Linked DNA regions of Homo sapiens: regions 1, 2 and 4 are each linked to region 3. The links are contacts of gene promoters, found by promoter capture Hi-C in blood cells and fetal thymus (Javierre and others, 2016). All regions are on one chromosome and are shown on one strand. Each heading gives the region's core, a stretch centred on a gene start or on the middle of the fragment in contact. The rest is flanking DNA. Distances are from core to core; before and after follow the strand shown.

Region 1 (2,923 bases), core at 373-2,872, 150 kb before region 3:
AATTCACAAAAATAAAGTCTGATGGGATTTTAATTACAGTTGCATTGACTCTACAGATTAATTACAGGATAACTGATAGCTTAATATTTAGCGCTGTGATCCATGAAGGTGGTCTCTCTCTCTCTCTCTCTCTCTCTCTCTCTCTGCAGTACAGGCATTTTAGTATTTTAAATTTGTGTCTAAATACTGCTTTGGATGCATACTATTGATTTTAATATATGGTGTTTAATTTTTATTCAATTTAAAGTACTTTCTAATTTCCTTATTGATTTTTTTAACCTATTTGTGATTTAAGAGTGTGTTATCTTGTTTCTAAATATTAGAGGTTTTTCCAAATGTCTTTCTGTTTCATTTCTAATTTAATTCTATTGTGGTGAGAGAACATAACTTTGTATGGCAAATACTTTTAAATGTATTGAAATTTATTGTTTAACGAATATGGTCTTCTTAGTAATGTTCTGTGTGCACTTGGAAAGAATGTGAGTTCTGCTGTTGTTGGGTGGAGTGTTTCAGAAATGTCCGTTAGGACACTTCAGTTAATAAAGCTGCTCAAATCTTCTATTTCCTTACTTATTTTTATGTCCATTTAGCCTATCAATTTTTGAGAGATTGGTGTTGATATCTTTGAAGTCTTTAATTGTGAATTCGTCTGTCTGTTTCTTCTTGCAGTTCTATTGGTTTTTGCTTCATGGATTTTGAAGCTGTCTTATTGGATGCATAAATATCATGTCTTTATGAATTCATCCCTTTATTATTATAAACTGACCCTGTTTATTACAGGTAATATCCTTTGCTCTGAAATCTACTATGTCTGATATTAACATAATTACTTCACCTTTCTTTGGTGTTTGTATTATTGTTTGACTAGTGTTTGCATCTTTTTCCCTTTTACTTTTAACCCACTTGTGTCTTTATATTTAAAGTGTATTTTTTATAGGCAGCATGTATTTAGGTTTTGCTTTTTTATTCAATCAGATAACCTTTGCCTTTTAATCAGAATGTTTAGACCAATTCCCTTTGGTGTAATTATTGATATGGTTGGATTTTAATCTACCATCTTGATATTTTCTACTTATTCTTTTTTAAAAACAGCTTTATTGATATATAATTCACATACTTAACAATTCACCCACTTAAAGAGTAAATTCAGTGACTGTTACTATATTCAAAAGTTGTGCATCTATCACCCCAGTCAATTGTAGAACGTTTTTCTTACCCCAGAAGAAACTCCACATGCCTTATTCATCACTTATCCCTCATTTTCCCTATCCCGGCCATAAACAACCACTAATCTATTTCTTGTCTCCATGTATCTGCTTATTTTTGACATTTCATATACATAAAATCATACAATATGTGGTCCTTTGTGATTTTCTTTCTTTTTACTTATCGTAATGTTTTCATGCTTTGTCCTTGTTGTATGTATCCATACTTCATTCGTTTTTTATTGCCAAATAATATTACATTTTATAGATACAACATTTGTTCATCTGCTCATCAGTTGATAGGCATTTGTGTCTTTTTGGTTAGTTTAAATAATACCACTGTGCACATTCATGTACAAGTTCATGCATGGATATGTGTTTTAATTTCTTTTGAGTATATACTAGGAGTAGAATTGGTGGATCACATGGTAACTCTATGTTTAGCCTTTTAGTAACAACCAAACTTTGTTTTCTGAAGGAGCTGCACCATTTTCCATTCCCACCAGCAGTTTATGGGGGTTCCAATTTCTCCACATTCTTACTGATACTTGTTTTTATCTGTCTTTTTAATTATATATTATATGTTCTATTATATATTATGCTTCCATGATGACTAATGATGTTGGGCATCTTTTCATGTGCTTATTGATCACTTGTATATCTTTTTTGGATAAATGTCCATTCAAATCATTTGCTTATTTATTTATTACTTTTTTGAGACGGAGTTTCGCTCTTGTTGCCAGGCTGGAATGCAATGGCGTGATCTCGGCTCACTGCAACTTCCGCCTCCCGGGTTCAAGTGATGTCCGCCACCACACCTGGCTAAATTTTGTGTTTTTAGTAGAGACAGGGTTTCACCATGTTGGCTAGGCTGGTTTTGAACTCCTGACCTCAAGTGATCTGCCCGCCTCAGCCTCCCAAAGTGCTGGGATTACCGGCATGAGCCACTGAGCCTGGCCTATTTGCTTATCTTTTAATTATTGAGTTGTAATAATAGTTCTTTATGTATCCTGGATATAAATCTCTCATCATATATATGATTTGCAATTTTTCTCTCATTCTGTGGATTGTCTTTTCACTTTCTTGATGGTGTTCTATGAAGCACAAAAGTTTTTAATAAGTCCAACTTATCTATTTTTTCTTTATTGCCTTGCTTCTATTTGTTCTTTTTGTTTATATTTCCCTTTTTCTGCCTTCTTTTGGATCCATTCGAATATTTTATAATTCCACTTTATCTCCTTTGTTGACTTAGCTGTATTAGTTTCATAGGCTATTGTGATATATTGCCACAAACTTTGTGGCTTAAAACAACACAAATTTATTCTCTTATAGTTCCAGAGGCCAGAAGTCCAAAATGGGTCTCACTCAGCAGGGCTGTATTTTCTCTAGAGGCTTAAGGGGAGAATTCTCCAGTTTTTAGAGCTTCATTCCTTGCATTCCTTGGCTCCTAGGCCCTCTCCTCCATCTTCAAAGTCCACAGCATAGCATCTTCAAGTCTCTCTCTGCTGAGGTTGTCACATTGCTTTCTCTCTTCTGTAGTAGAATCTCCTTCTGCCTCCCTCTTGTAAGGACACTTGTGATTGCTTTTAGGGCCCACTTACATAATCCAGGATAACCACTCCATTTTAAGACCTTTAACTTAATCGCTAAAATTGTTAAGACCTTTTCCCCCTTTACAAGGTAATATTCATAGGTTCCAATGATTAGAACCTGGATAT
Region 2 (3,289 bases), core at 790-3,289, 230 kb after region 3:
CGCACCACTGCACTCTAACCCAGGCGCCAAGAGTGAAACTCTTGACCCAAAAAAAAAAAAAAGAAAGAAAGAAAAAGAAAAAAGAATGTTAGATAGCGTCTTTGAAAATCCTTTTGGCTGGGTGCAGTGGCTCACGCCTGAAATCCCAGCACTTAGGGAGGCCAAGGCAGGCAGATCACCTGAGGTCAGGAGTTCGAGACCAGCCTGACCAATATGGCAAAACCCCGTCTCTACTAAAAATACAAAAATTAGCCAAGCGTGGTGGCAGGCGCCTGTAATCCCAGCTACTCAGGAGGCTGAGGCAGGAGAATCGCTTGAACCCAGGAAGGAGAGGTTGCAGTGAGCCGATATCGCGCTCCAGCCTGGGGGATACAGCGAGACTCTGCCTCCAAAAAAAAAAAGAAAAGAAAATACTTCCATCCCACTTTTATATTTCAAATAATTACTTCAACATTACTGTAATATTTATTGTGAGATATACATTTGGTCTTCATCCCATTTCCTGGCATACAACTTCTAAGATCCTTAGAATGGTAAGTTTCTTTTTGTATGCTGAGTTGACTGATAGCTTGGCAACTTCTAGGTAGTTTCTGCATGGGTGCTGGTCACCTGAAAGATCAAGGCAAGATGAGAGGATTAGGACTTTTAGCCCCACCTCCTCCAAACTCCAGGGAGGGAAAAGGTGCTAAGGGTTAAGGTGACCACCAAAGGTCAATGATTTAACCAACTGTGCCTCTGTAATGAAGCCTCCATAAAAGCCCATAAATGACTGGGTTCAGAGAGCTTCCAGATAGCTGAGGCACAGTGTAGCCAGGGGAGGGCATGGAAGCTCCGCGGCCCTTACTTCTCCTACGCACCTCCTCATCCATATCCTTTATAATAAACTCTTGAACCTAAGTGTTGGCCGGGTACAGTGGCTCATGCCTGTCTGTAATCCCAGCACTTTGGGAGGCTGAGGTGGGTCGATCGCTTGAAGTCAAGAATTCGAGACCAGCCTGACCAACATGATGAAACCCCATCTCTACCAAAAATATAAAAAATTAGCCAGGTGTGGTGGCGCATGCCTATAATCCCAGCTACTTGGGAGGCCGAGGCAGAAGAATCGCTTGAACCAGAGCGATAGAGGTTGCAGCAAGCCTAGATCGTGCCACTGCACTCCAGCCTGGGTGACAGAGCCAAGACTCCGGCTCCAAAAAAAAAAAACCCTAAGTATTTCCGAGAGTTCTACATAAGCCACTCTAGCAAGTTAACTGAACAAAAGAAGGGGGTATTAGGAACTCAATTTATAGTCAGTTGGTCAGAAACACAGGTAAAACCACCTGGGACTTGAGATTAGCATTGGAAGTGGGGGACTGTCTATGGGACTTGAGCTTTCAACCTGTGGGATCTGATGCTATCTTCAGGTACACCGTGTCAGAATAATACTGAATTAGAGGATACCCATGTGGTGTCCACTGCTGAATAGCTTGCTTGATGCGCAGGGGAAAACCCCACACATCTGGTGGTGTGAGAATATACTGGAAGAAAGTTTATGTTCTCAGAATCAACAAAAAATTATCCTACATGGTTGCAACGTATTCAACATTTCAGGAATTTCCCTGTAACAACTGTAACACAGTTAAGCAACAGGTATGCTGGAGGTTAGTTAATGCTGTGTTTTCCAGAATTAAAGATATAAATGCATTTCTCAAATATATACACTACATTCCTTTAAATCACTGTGGGTGCGACGGCTTACGCCTATAATCCCAGCACTTTGGGAGGCTGAGATGAGTGGATCACAAGGTCAGGAGTTCGAGACCAGCCTGACCAACATGGTGAACCAGATCTCTACTAAAAAGACAAAAATTACCCAGCCGTGGTGGCACGCGCCTGTAATCCCAGCTACTCGGGAGGCTGAGGGAGGAGAATCACTTGAACCTGGGAGGCGGACGTTGCAGTGAGCCGAGATCACACCACTGCTCTCAAGCCTGGGCAACAGAGCAAGACTCCATCTTAAAAAACAAACAAACAAACGAAAAAACTCAACAAATGGCTTCATATTAAGTCTACACCTCTAATTACTGCCTTCTCAAACTACGCTTTCCAGTGAACAATGCTTTATTTGGTTTGCTACATTCTTGCAAATTTGAGTGAAAAGTACACTTAAAAAAAAAAAGTATCATAGGCCAGTATGGTGGCTCACATCTGTAATCACGGCACTCTGGGAGGTCTTGGTGGACAGATCGCTTGAGCCCAGGAGTTCCAGACCAGCCTGGGAAACACAGTGAAACCTCACCTCTACCAAAAAAATACAAAAATTAGGCCAGGCGCAGTGGCTCACACCTGTAATCCCAGAACTTTGGGAAGCTGAGGCAGGTAGATCACTTGAGGTCAGGAGTTCAAGACCAGATGGCCAACATGGTAAAACCCCATCTCTACTAAAAATACAGGCCTGGGCAGTGGCTCACGCCTGTAATCACAGCACTTTGGGAGGCCGAGGCAGGTGGATCACCTGAGGTCAGGAGTTCGAGACCAGCCTGACTAACGTGGTGAAACCCTGTCTCTACTAAATACAAAAAATTAGCCGGGCATGGCGGCGTGCGCCTGTAATCCCAGCTATTCAGGAGGCTGAGGCAGGAGAATCACTTGAACCCAGGAGCCGGAGGTTGCACTGAGCAGAGATCACACTATTGCACTCCAGCCTGGGCAACAAGAGCAAAACCCTGTTTTAAAAAAACATATATATATAAAATTAGCCAGGCATGATGGCGCGCACCTGTAATCCCAGCTACTTGGGAAGCTGAGGCAGGAGAATCACTTGAACCCGGGAGGCAGAAGTTGCAGCAAGCCAAGATCATACCACTGCACTCCAGCCTGAGGGAGAAGAGCAAAACTCTCTCTCAAAAAAAAAAGAAAAAAAACAATTTTTGACACGTGTGGTTAGCATGCACCTGTAGTCCCAGCTACTCAGGGGCTGAGGTGAGAGACTGACCTGAGACCAGAATATCAAGGCTGCAGTGAGCAGGGATTGTGCCGCTGCACTCCAGCCTAGGCATTGAAGTGAAACCCTGTCTCAAAAAAAAAAAAAAAAAAAACTATTGTATACACTGGGGGGCAGAAGGTGTTGAGCCCCTTTTAACTTTCAAAGATTCATCTTTAAAATTGTGAGCAAACAGAAAAGGAATTGCTAGATTCTTCTATATATAGAGTCACTCAATGGGATGCCATTTTGAAACTTCACAGCAGGAAGTTTTAGTTTGGTCAGAGGGTCATTAAAGAAATGCCTCAGTTAATATATATGACTTGA
Region 3 (3,359 bases), core at 705-3,204:
TGAACATTTAAAATATGAAAAAGGAAAAAACCTTCATATAACTGCCTCTCAGTGTGCCTCCTCTCTAAAGCTTCTAGGCTGCTTTCTCCACTGGGCTGCAGACCTTCCTGTCTAGTAGCTCTTGGACACCATGTGTCCCAAACTGAACTCATCCCTTCCCTCCAGCTGCCCCTATTCCTGTGTTCTGTGTATCTATTCATGACATGTCCATCCACCTGGTCAGCCACGTTCAAAACTTGAATCTTTTGACTACTCACTATACTTCACTTCCTATATCCAATTGGTTGCCAAATACTGCCCACTGAACAGCTTCCAAGCATCTAATCTCTCTCTTCTTTATCTACTGCTGGAATTCTCTTCCTGAAGCCCAGATTTATGTTATTATTTGCCTTACATTTTCCTCCCATTTTCTATGGAATGGCCTAACTCCTTAGAATGGTACCAAGATTTTCCACAGTTTGGCCATTCCTTTCCACCCCACTGCACCTTGTTTTCATTGTCCTCAGAATTTCATTTATAAAGGTGACTGGGTGATGACAATCAATGAGTTAGTGGCCAATGCCTTTGAAAATTTTATTATAGTTCTCAAGAGAAGGGGCTGTGCCTACGGCCACACGAGAAAGTATTAGGGTCAATGAGGAGGTAGAGAGAGCGAGGAGAAAGCCCAGAGCCTTTATTGCCGTGGGAAGGAATGGGCGAAGCAGGGAAGGGAAGTCTGAACAAGCTTAGGATTGAATAATTTGAATAATGTTGGCAAGCTCTGGGATATAGAGGTGAATTTTAGTTGTCTGGTACTTGGCCATGGGGTGGTTTATTACAGTGACTTGGGGCAGGGAAAATATTGGTGTGTGAGATGGATAAAGATGGTGTGGGGATATAGGCTTGGGTTGGTTGGTTTGTAAATGAAAGGGGTGTTCACAAGCAAGTTGTTTGCTATCTCTAGGAATTAGCTAACTCTGAAAGGGGCAATTCCTCCCCAGGTCCCCAAGGCCCCAAGATGTCAAAGCATCATAAAATACAGAAAACAGAAACTAAAATCCATGGTTAATACACACCTCCCTTCACACACACCCTTTACTCCCGGCTCCAGTAGCCCCAGAAATGCTCTAGACGAAGTAAGTTCTGTAGTGCATCTCTCAACAATATGCCGCCACCCATAGCCCTGGCTGAGGAGAGCCACCAAACCTGGTACTATGCGACCATGGTCCTTCCCCTGGTCACTGGATAGTGATCGCACCCAACACAGGCACCCCCATCTACAGGGTGGCTGGAGATCTATGACCATTGTGGCGTACCTGGACCAATCAATAAACTGGACCAATTGGATTTCCATTTTTAGGGATTTAAATTCAGAGCCACAAAAGGAGATTGTCAGTTGATGATGAGCTAAGACACCCTGAAGTATACTCACAACCTTAGCAAGCCATGTGCAGTCTAGTGCTCCACCCCTCTACCCACCCCGTCCAACCCCCACCAAAATACTAACAAAATACAACACACTAGTTCATCATCTAGACCATAATAACTCGCTGGGGATAGTGCTGGAAGTTTTTGTTTGTTTAACATTTCTTTCAAATACTAAGATTAACGGAGTTGCATAGTGAAAAAAACTGTAGGAAAGGGTCGGACTTAGGCCTGGAGTGAAGGGCACAAGATGCTTTTATTTTAAACCCCTAAAAGTGTTGCAAAGTGTTTTTAATTTCATATAAATAGTTAAGGATCACATGAACACAATCCAGTACAAATGGGTCCAGGAGCTTCAACGAGCGTTCCAGCTTCTTCGTAACGTTCCCACACCGTGCAGCAAGCGGAGGGAAGAGAACTTCCGGCGCCCCCACCTACCGCTCCCCAGCCGTGTCCCGCTGCTCTAAATCTGCAGACTTGATCGATTGCTTCTGCCTGGGCGGTACCGCCCGAATTGACTGCTCCTGTCTGATGCGTCCCCGGGCGCGGGAAACGAGTTTCAATCCACTTTCCTGACCCCAACCATCCTGCCCAGTCTCCGCTTCCCCGTCTTGTACACCCCTAACTCCTGAGGCTCCTCCGAATCACGCGAGTGGAAGCGGAGAAGCTCAAGTGGCCGCCATGTCAGAGGCTTATTTCCGAGTGGAGTCGGGTGCGCTGGGGCCTGAGGAGAACTTTCTTTCTTTGGACGACATCCTGATGTCCCACGAGAAGCTGCCGGTGCGCACGGAGACCGCCATGCCTCGCCTTGGCGCTTTCTTCCTGGAGCGGAGCGCAGGCGCCGAGACTGACAACGCGGTCCCACAGGTGAGCCTTTGGGTGCGGGGTCCTGCCCGGAAAGACTGCAGCTCCCGGCGGGCCCCTCGGCCCTGGGACGCCGCATCGGGGCGCGCTGCCCTTTGGGATTTGTAGTTTTCGAGGAGCCAGGGCCGAAGGCGCTAACGACTTCTCGGAAACTCCGCGGGGGTCCCTTCGCGCTCGGGGTGGTCTCCAGACTTCTTGTTCGCCATCTGTGGTGAAACTACATTTATCCTAGGTCGCCAGGCAGCCTCCAACATTGATTTCTTTTTTGAAACTGTCCAAATTAGTGTCTTCCCCCTACCCCATGCAACGTGTGTTGAATGCTTAAAGATTGGCTCCAGCTGAATACTTAAGAATTAGAGTTCTGATCATGTTTGCCTTAAAACAGCTTTGGGTTCTGTAAGAGCATGTGATAAGTAGGAACCCCAAGTTGCTAAATTCATTCCTCCATAATGATGACAGGATCAGTAAGCCCTACTGAGGCTTACTTAGTGGCAGCATGGTTGGGTGTGGGGAGTAAGCTTTTCCCTTTAATCCTTCAGCAACCAGAAAGGCTGGGTCACTTGGCCAGGGCTTCAGTTAGTGGTGAGCTGGGATTCGGAACCCAAGGCCATATGGCTTCAAATATAAAATTGTCCCAGGAACATGGCTTGTAATGATTAATTTGGATATCCTGTTTCACCTAAGTTTTGTATAGAACGATGTTTATTGTTTGGTCTGTTTGTTTCAAGTTAATTTTTATCAAAGTAATACATAACCAACGTTTTAAAAGTCAAATAGGCCGGATGCGGTGGCTCACGCCTGTAATCCCAGCACTTTGGGAGGCTGAGGCGGGCGGATCACGAGGTCAAGAGATCCAGACCATCCTGGCCAACATGGTGAAACCCCATCTCTACTAGAAAGCTGGGTGTGGTGGCCGGCGCCTGTAATCTCAGCTACTCTGGAGGCTGAGGCAGGAGAATTTCTTGAACCCAGGAGGCAGAGGTTGCAGTGAGCCGAGACTGTGCCACTGCACTCCAGCCTGGCGACAGAGTGAGACTCCATCTCAAAAAAAAAAAAAAAAAAAGTCAAATAGTACCAAAAGATTTATAAGA
Region 4 (3,181 bases), core at 234-2,733, 250 kb after region 3:
AGTAGCTGGGATTACAGGCACATGCCACCACGCCCAACTAATTTTTGTATTATTAGTAGAGACGGGGTTGCAACATGTTGGCCAGGCTGGTCTCAAACTCCTGACCTCAGGTGATCCACCCGCCTTGGCCTCCCAAAGTGCTGGTGTTACAGGCATGAACCACCATGCCCAGCCCAGAAATATAAAACTTTTTTTTTTGAGACAGAGTTTCACTCTTGTTGTCCAGGCTGGAGTGCAATTGTGAAATCTTGGCTCACCACAACCTCCACCTCCTGGGTTCAAGCAATTGTCCTGCCTCAGTCTCCCGAGTAGCTGGGATTACAGGTGTGTGCCATCACGCACGGCTAATTTTGTAATTTTAGTAGAGACAGGGTTTCACCATGTTGTCCAGGCTGGTTTTGAACTCTTGACCTCAGGTGATTCGCCTGCCTTGGCCTCACAAAGTGCTGGGATTACAGGCGTGAGCCACTGGGCCTGGCCTAGGAACATGATTTTTTTTTTGTTCTTGTTCTTTTTTTTTTTTTTGAGACGGAGTCTTGCTCTGTCACCCAGGCTGGAGTGCAGTGGCATGATCTTAGCTCACTGCAAGCTCTGCCTCCCAGGTTCATGCCATTCTCGTGCATCAGCCTCCCGAGCAGCTGGGACTACAGACGCCCGCCACCATGCCCGGCTAATTTTTTTTTGTATTTTTAGTAGAGACAGGGTTTCACTGTGTTAGCCAGGATGGTCTCGATCTCCTGACTTCGTGATCTGCCTGCCTCGGACTCCCAAAGTGCTGGGATTACAGGCATCAGCCACCACGCCCGGCTGGAACATGATTTTTTAAAACAACACTGTGGGCCCAACCAATCTGCCTGCTTCACAGTGTTGCTGTATGGTGCAAAGGAGGAAATGTCATGCTTTGTAAACTATGAATTGGAAGAGTGTGTGTGTATTTGTGTGTGTGTGCATGTGTGTGTGTGTGTGCATGTGTGCGTGTGTGTGTGTGTGTGTGTACAGCACTATGCACTGGGGTTCTGAGCTCCTCTTTTTCTTTTGCTCTTCTGACACCTGAGCAAGAAAGAGACACCCTGGCCAAGTGCAATAGCTCATGCCTGTAGTCCCAGCACTTTGGGAGGCCAAAGTGGGAGGATTGCTTGAGCCCAGCAGTTCCAGACCAGCCTGGGCAACATAGCGGAGACCCTGTCTCATTTTAATATTTTTGAGATGGAGTTTCACTCTTGTTGCCCAGGCTAGAGTGCAATGGCACGATCTTGGCTTACCGCAACCTCCGCCTCACGGGTTCAAGCAATTCACCCGCCTTAGCCTCCTGAGAAGCTGGAATTACAAGCATACACCACCACACCTGGCTAATTTTGTATTTTTAGTAGAGATGGGGTTTCTCCATGTTGGCCAGGCTGGTCTTGAACTCCTGACCTCAGGTGACCCGCCCGCCTCAGTCCCCCAAAGTGCTGAGATTACAGGTGTGAGCCACTGCTCTCGGCCGAGACTCCCTCATTCTAACCTTCCTGTGACTCTGAGGAGAGGGGGTGACTCACCGCTCTCAGGCAGTGGTTCTCTGTGTTGCTGAAGTTGCAGGTGCCCTCAGAGCAGCAGTAGATGTGAGGAATGGCCAGAGGCTATGGACAAAAGTCTGGAAAGTCAGACAGTGACAGCAGGGGGCCACTGGACCCACCTCCATTCCCATGGAAGTCACCCCATTTCCTGCCATTTCTAAATTGGCCTGCATGGCGGCATCACCTGTCTCTGACTTAAGGATGGCAGAGAGCCACCTGCCTTACAGGTAGATGTACCACAAGGTGCCAAAGATAAGGACTGGAAGGAGACAGAACTTATTCTTTGCCAACGAGGCCATTGTAACCAAATTCCATCAGTGTCATTGGCTTAAAACCAGGAGGGACAAGTAAATGCCTCTACTTGATCATGACAGTGATAATGACTCACCTTGACTGAGTGCTCGCTGTGTGCCACACTCTACCTTGAGTCCTTTATTTTAATTGTCTTCTTTATTTACTGTAACCCTGTGAAGCAGGTACTACTCTGTGCATTACCATTTTTTTTTTTTTTTTTGAGACAGAGCCTCACTCCATTGCCTAGGCTGGAGTGCAGTGGCACGATCTCGGTTCACTGCAACCTCCGCCTCCCAGGTTTAAGCGAGTCTCCTGCCTCAGCATCCCAAGTAGCTGGGATTACAGACATGCATCACCATGACTGGCTAATTTTTGTATTTTTAGTAGAGACAGGGTTTCACCATGTTGGCCAGGCTGGTCTCAAACTCCTGGACTCAGGTGATCCACCTGCCTCAGCCTCCCAAAGTGCTGGGATTACAAGCATGAACCACCATGCCTGGCCTGTCAATCCCATTTTGCAGACAAGGAAATTGAGGTAAACGGATGGTAAAGAGCTTGCTCAAGGCCACAGTCAGTCAGAGGCAGTGCCAGGATTCAAACCCAGGTTGGTGTGATGTCCAGACCTAACACTTGTAGCCATTTGGCTATATTGCCTCCTGCAGGGTTAACACAGAGCCATACTCAGAACCTCAGAGCAGCTGACACCTTTCAGATTGCAGTAGAGGGGAATGAGGATCAAGGTCAGAGATTGATCACTATCCTCTGAATATATCCCCACTCTTCCCATTGATCTCTGTCTCCCATGTTCTCATTCTCTAGTCCATGTGTTGCTGTCATCTCTGCCTGGACCACAGCAGGCCCTGACTGGTCTCCATCTCTGTACTCTGCCCTGCTCCTCCATAAACTATCCTCCTGCTAAAATCCTTCTAATGGCTCCCTATAGAGTCTTTGCATGGCTTACAAGGCCCCCACCTGCCACAAGAGCCTCTTTCTTACTGTCCATCCCCAACTTGAGGTGGGTCTCATTCTGTCACCCAGGCTGGAGTGCAGCGGCATGATCACTGCTCACTGCAGCCTTCACCTCCCCAGGCTCAGGTAATCCTCCCCTTCAGCCTCCTGAGTAGCTGGGACTACAGGTGTGCACCACCACACCCGGCTAATATTTGTATTTTTTGTATTTTTTTATTTTTTGAGACTGAGTCTCACTCTGTCACCAAGCTGGAGTGCAGTGGCGGGATCTTGGCTCACTGCAACCTCCGACTCCCTGGTTCAAGCAATTCTCCTGCCTCACCCTCCCAAGTAGCTGAGATTACAGCCACGCGCCACCACGC

The links. The method cuts DNA at HindIII sites, captures the fragments that hold promoters and counts their contacts. A CHiCAGO score of 5 or more calls a contact.
Region 1: a contact is called between a fragment that was not itself captured here and the fragment with the promoter of GINS3 in region 3, in 2 of 17 cell types (naive CD4 T cells and non-activated CD4 T cells). The highest score is 5.4, in naive CD4 T cells.
Region 2: a contact is called between a fragment that was not itself captured here and the fragment with the promoter of GINS3 in region 3, in 10 of 17 cell types (non-activated CD4 T cells, naive CD4 T cells, activated CD4 T cells and 7 more). The highest score is 12.9, in non-activated CD4 T cells.
Region 4: a fragment that was not itself captured here is called in contact with the fragment with the promoter of GINS3 in region 3 in 2 of 17 cell types (activated CD4 T cells and naive CD8 T cells); the score reaches 6.2 in activated CD4 T cells.

The regions. Positions count from the first base shown.
Region 1 is chr16:58,239,157-58,242,079 of GRCh38, forward strand. All of the region lies in intron 3 of LOC105371293 (a long non-coding RNA gene), which reads right to left. Among named protein-coding and RNA genes, the nearest start is that of CFAP263, 9.3 kb to the right of the region's middle. The HindIII fragment of the contact is 4,235 bases long and covers 1-2,923 here.
Region 2 is chr16:58,622,801-58,626,089 of GRCh38, forward strand. All of the region lies in intron 1 of CNOT1 (CCR4-NOT transcription complex subunit 1), which reads right to left. Among named protein-coding and RNA genes, the nearest start is that of CNOT1, 5.4 kb to the right of the region's middle. The HindIII fragment of the contact is 4,558 bases long and covers 1-3,289 here.
Region 3 is chr16:58,390,517-58,393,875 of GRCh38, forward strand. GINS3 (GINS complex subunit 3) reads left to right here and starts at 1,955. Exons shown (of 3, transcript NM_022770.4): 1 at 1,955-2,271. The coding sequence starts at 2,086. RefSeq lists enhancers at 1,594-2,171, 1,778-2,267, 2,172-2,748. The HindIII fragment of the contact is 2,062 bases long and covers 723-2,784 here.
Region 4 is chr16:58,643,374-58,646,554 of GRCh38, forward strand. No RefSeq gene overlaps it. Among named protein-coding and RNA genes, the nearest start is that of CNOT1, 15 kb to the left of the region's middle. The HindIII fragment of the contact is 7,485 bases long and covers 1-3,181 here.